Regions from separate parts of the Homo sapiens genome. Here region 2 is linked to region 1. The links are contacts of gene promoters, found by promoter capture Hi-C in blood cells and fetal thymus (Javierre and others, 2016). All regions are on one chromosome and are shown on one strand. The core of a region is centred on a gene start or on the middle of the fragment in contact, and the rest is flanking DNA. Distances in the headings are between cores, read along the strand shown.

Region 1 (2,700 bases), core at 10-2,509:
CAGTCATCTTCCATCCACTGATCCCCACCCTGCTTCCTGGCTTCCCACTTGCCCATGCTATAATCAGAGTTGAGCCCAATCTCTCTCCTTTACTACAAAATCCCATTGCTGTGGTCCCTATACCCATTGCAATGGTCTTCAATAATTAATGTGCTTTTAATAAGCATCATTAATTAATTTCTTTAACATAAGGTTGAGAAGATTAAATAAGGTAACCCAGGGCATTTGATCTGCTTACTGGAGGTCAGAGACAGAATAATGGGCCCAAGACAACAGAGAATGGCTCCTTGGGATCTTGTCTTAGAACAAGAGAAACTGCCCTGCTTGGAAGAAACGGAAGGTTGCTCTGCCTCCGTGATGGAGGGGTGGACAGGGACCGATTGTCTGCAGGATGGCCCCCAAGGTTCCCACTAGTATCCTAGGAATGGCTTAGTCACCTCCTGCTCAGAGCTTCTCCAACAGGCTGTTACATGGCTGCTTCCCACCCTGGCTGCCAAGCTCCAACTCTCTACTCCAAGGGCCCCGCATCCCTAGAGCCACACAAGGGTCCCTCCGTACCCCCACAAGCTGGGGAGATTCCAACTGCCTCATCTGGACAGGCTTCGAAGTCCTGTCTGTGTCTCAGAGCCCAGAGGCCCTTGTGCGAAGGGGCAGCTTGAGCCTGGGCAAGAAGTTCCTGTGGGCCAGAAGGTGACCTGTCCTGTGCTGGCCACCTACATGGCCTGGGAACAGTTATCAGCTCACTGTCCTGGAAAAGCCCAGATGGGTGTGGTCAGAATACAAGAAGGAAAACCCCCTCCACACACACTTCAGTGTCTACCCCAGACTCGCCTCCTCCGTGGAGGCACCCCTCCCTTTCCGCGTCTACACAGGCTCTGAATCCCCCTTCAACACGGCTGGCCTTGGCCCTGGGGGAAGCACCTCGCCACCCTCTTACCTTGACCACATAAACAGCGGGAGGTGCAGGATGATTCTGATCCCCCCCAGGAGACCCTCCCTCCATCCCGCCCCGCTGTCCCCACCCCTCACCTCCCCGCAGCCTTCACCTCTCCCTCCCCCGACCCGAGGGCCTGAAGAGGCGTGGGAGGCCAGGGAGGGGCAGGGCCCAGGCCTACTCTGGACCCGTCTGCTCCAGTCCCCCGACTCAGCTGGGCCTGCGCCTCTGGGTCAGCTCACTGCGAACCTCAGCCCAGGTACCTACCCTGCCGGGCTTCCTGGTGCTGTCCGGTCCGGTCCAGCAGCCCACGGGCTCCTCTCGAGAGCCGCCCCTTCCCTGTTGCCAGGCAACATTGCTGAGGGGCAGTCATTTGGTCCAATCGTGGAAGCGGAGGTGTGGGGCGGAACCCAAGAGAGGAGTCAGCCAATGGTGACGCGCCTCACAGGGAGTGAGCCGAACCCGGTGGGTGCGGCTCGGGGCGGGGCCGCGGTCTGCGGGAGGAGCGGCTGCAGGCCCGGGAATCCGGCCCGGCTGCGTGCGTACCAAGGAGGCGCCTGGAGAGGGCGGCCAATGACTCAGGCCAGGCCAGGCCAGCAGTGGTACCTGGGGAGAAGGGGTGTCTGGGCTGGGCGCTGGAGCGGAGTAGCCAGGGTGTGGGAGATCCTGGGGGAGAGGCTGAGCTTGGGGGTGAAGACACCCGGGGGAGGAGAGTGGCCCATGTGGAGCCCATGCAGAGGCCTCTGCAGTGCAGCCTCCTGGGCCCCAGGCAACTCTCCCCTGACTCCCCGGCCTGCTGGTCCTGGCCTAGAGCCTCGGGTCCGCCTCCCCTCGGGCCTCCCTCTGCCAGCTGCCCCTGCCTCGCTCTTCCCTGGCACCAGGTCCTTCCCGGCAGCCATCAGGCGCCAGCTCCACAGCCTGGCTAAACAGACTCCCTCCACCCCACGTGCGCCTCTTCAGCCGGTTCCCGTTCACTCCAAGACGTCTGAACCTGTCACCCCACTTCTTCAGCTCGTTCCTTCTCAAACCCACCGAAACCTGGTCCCGGGGGCCTGCTCACTACATCCGAGGTGCGCTTTGGGTCCTCGCAGGCAGCATTTGGCGCTTGGTGATCGTGCTCTCATCAGACCTCTCTCTTGGGCACCCCGGCGCCCATTCCTGGCCCTGGCTCGCTCGCTGTCCCTGGTGGTCTTCCCTGGGCCCTTCTGGCTTCTGCCCTGGAGTTTCTCGACTTCTCCCTACTCTCTCCACCCCACGCATCCTCCCTGGGGTCCACCTTCCTGCAGATTCAGCTCCCGCATGTCCATGGTACCAGTTCTCTCCCCTGCACGGCCTGCTGGTTTTCCAGCCTGGAAAACCGTGACTTCGCCCGCCAACGTCCGCTTGAGTTGGTCTCGAACTCCTGACCTCAGGTGATCTGCCTGCCTCGGCCTCCCACAGTGCTAGAATTGTAGGGGTTAGCCACTGCACCCGGCTGGTCACCTCTTATTCTTTAAGCTGGAACAAAAATAGAAGGCTTTCTGCCTGAGGGCAGCAGGCCTGGCTGGTGACAGTGCACAAGGTAGGGCCCCTCACCAAGACATTGCTCTGAGATCCAAGGCCAATGTCCCAGGAGAAGCAGCTCCACAAACTAACGCATCTACAGCCAGGGTACCCCCAGCTGTGGATGCCAATGACACGAGTAGCCCCAGCTCTTCACCTCGGCTTCTTAGAGTAGGTGCCTGTCACCTGCAGCCAGGGCTCCTGATGCCCAAGACACACGGGCC
Region 2 (2,700 bases), core at 44-2,543, 420 kb before region 1:
TGTTGTATATCTTACATATACGCAGTAGGATTTGTTTTTTGTTTTTCTTTTTTAAAGTGAATCCCCAAGGAAATGGAGGATATATGGCAGGGAAATATCTTACTATTTGTTCCCTGCCTGATATTTATGCTTGCTTGGATATAAAAATCACAGTTCTAGCACATAAATGGGATATTAGAAAACAGAACACAAACATAAAGAAACAGGTTATTTTGCCTATCAGCACTTTGTTTACTTAGGCTTATAAAGTGTGTTCACATTCACTTCATCTAACTATAAAAGAAGTGACTCCTACCTCTTTGCAGAGATGAAGAAGGAGAGACAGAGCAAGGCTGTGAAGGGCCTAAGCTCTCAAACCCAAGACAGGGCAGAAGCAAGACACGACTCCTGCTCTGCTGGCACCGAGTGCTCCTGTCCTGACGTGGGAGCTACTGGTCTCTAGGGGGCAGCACTCACCTCACTAACAAGGTGACAGCACCTGCAACCACTGGAGAAGCAACACTGGTCCCTGAGAGGGCCCGGCACCCCCCTTTCACGCCAGAACCCCGCACGCCAGCACCATAGGTGACAATGTCAGGTTTCATGCGACCGTAGCCTCCTGGTAGCTCCTATGAATAAAAGCAGCTTGGTTGCTACATCTCGCACATTGGCATACAGCCGCATGCAATCATGAGTGAATCAAATCAGAACAGAGATATGGGTTAGTTAAAAACTGTATAACCTTAGGAAGGTACTGGTTTTAGTCTGAAATTCACTCCAGGCCAGGCGCAAGGCTCACACCTGTAATCCCAACACTCTGGGAGGCCGAGGCAGGTGGACTGCTTGAGCCCAGGAGTTCCAGACTAGCCTGGGCTACACAGTAAGACCCCCATCTCCACAAAAAATACAAAAATTAGCCAGATGTAGTGGCACAAGCCTGTAGTCCCGGCTACTCAGGAGGATCACCTGAGCCCGGGAGGTCAAGGCTGCAGGGAGCCGTGATTGTGCCACTGCACTCCAGCCTGGGCAACACAGTGAGATCCTGTCCCCCTCAGCCCCGCACCCGCCCCCCCCCCAAAAAAAAAGAGAAAAAAACAAAGAAATTCACTACAATACAGAAAATAAGCTTAAACGATAATGTAGAAAGTAAATTTTTAAAAATATATTTTATAACAACCAGAACAATGGCAAAGGCATAAAGCAATTAAAAGATAAGTATTTTAATTTTGCTGACATGCCAGACTGGAAAGTGGACACTGGCTTATCACCAAGACCAGAAACTGGAAACTGCTTTATCTCTAGATAAGTTAAAATTAGAAATATGTTAGAAAAATTAGAAAATTAAAATGTAAAAAAACCCAAACATGTTTCTTTACAAGGAAAAAAGTACACGGTATGAGTGGATGTTTCAAACGGTTGTAAAAGAGGAAATAAGAAACCACTGAGAAGGAACAAGATAACCACACGACTAACTTGGGATAACGTTTTAATAAGTACTTGCTTAAGCTTCTTAAGAATTGGGGCAAAACGAAAATTAGAATAGGATCTCATATTCTGTCAGAAAACAGGAGCCCAATTTGAAGGGAAGCCCTTTTCTGACCATCAAACCCAAGGACCATGGATGCACATACTGGGATACCGAGTAAAGGCATCCTCCACTGCAGCTGTGATGATGGAAGGACATTTCTCAAATGCCATTAAAAAGCTGGCTGGTGATGAAGGCCATGGACGTGACATCTCATCACGGTTTGGTGAAAGCGTTTACACGGGGAGCTGGGGACAAAGTGGATGACATCTCACCACAGTTCGGTGAGAGCATTTACACAGGGAGCTGGGGACAAAGTGGTGGATGCAGTTTCCCATTATCCGGCAGCACAAGGAACATGCTGAGGGAGCGTGGATGGGAGGACACGCAGCCTGCCCTGCACAGACTGTCACATGAGAGAATGGTCCCCAGCCAACAGGTCAGCTCCAGGAAGAGGCACGTGAGTGTGGGAGGCGGGGACCCCTGGTGGGGCTGAGTGGCGGGGACGCTGGGGGCTGACGCTGTCACAGGACAAAGGCTCAGGCAGAAGGCTATCCTGTAAAGTGGCTACAGTGTGGACGAGGCCCACAGTGTTCCCAGGCAGTTGGGAATCTTTCCAGGGACTTATCTGAGGCCTCCGAGTGTGGCATGTGACGTTAAACACCAAGAGATGCTCTGACCCTGAAGAATGAGAAGGGCAGATGCTCCCCTCGGCCACAGCGAGGGCAAAGGTGCCCAACTGCTGTTCTGCACGAGCGTCTAATTTTTCATCAAACTTTGACAGGTAAAGGTGGGTGAATGTGCTGCATAATTAAACCCCAAACAGCTGAATTATTAACTGTAGCAGTTATTTTGAATTTGTCCAGCTAAATACAATTGTTTCTGTGTTAGCAGAGTTGATATTAAGCTGTTCTCAATGGTTTCTCCAACTTCTTAAGGCTCCCCTCCCCCAAAAAATATCATCTCACCTACCACTGAGGAGGACTGCTTACCACTACTAGATAGGGTAAACGGGCAGGAACCCAATTCACCTAAAGGTGAGTTCCTCAGAAATCAATTAATAAGTTAAACTGGGAAACACCGCTTAGAATCAGCCGGTGCTCATCACAGCAGCTGTGGACTTGCCAGAGTGAAGTGGCAGATGCTGACGGGGCCCAGATCTCTCGTCCTCACGGCTGGGCAGGCACTCACAGCCC

The links. Contacts are between HindIII fragments. The CHiCAGO score rates a contact against its expected background, and 5 or more counts as called.
Region 2: a fragment that was not itself captured here is called in contact with the fragment with the promoter of MEAK7 in region 1 in 1 of 17 cell types (fetal thymus); the score reaches 5.0 in fetal thymus.

The regions. Positions count from the first base shown.
Region 1 is chr16:84,503,400-84,506,099 of GRCh38, forward strand. It overlaps MEAK7 (MTOR associated protein MEAK7), which reads right to left and starts at 1,260. Exons shown (of 8, transcript NM_020947.4): 1 at 1,202-1,260. It overlaps LOC124903736 (a long non-coding RNA gene), which reads left to right and starts at 1,403. Exons shown (of 2, transcript XR_007065149.1): 1 at 1,403-1,536. RefSeq lists enhancers at 670-1,170, 1,291-2,238, 1,601-1,720 and a silencer at 1,001-1,050. The HindIII fragment of the contact is 3,004 bases long and covers 1-2,700 here.
Region 2 is chr16:84,084,527-84,087,226 of GRCh38, forward strand. It overlaps MBTPS1 (membrane bound transcription factor peptidase, site 1), which reads right to left. Exons shown (of 23, transcript NM_003791.4): 10 at 457-608. Among named protein-coding and RNA genes, the nearest start is that of MBTPS1, 31 kb to the right of the region's middle. RefSeq lists a silencer at 405-454. The HindIII fragment of the contact is 380 bases long and covers 1,104-1,483 here.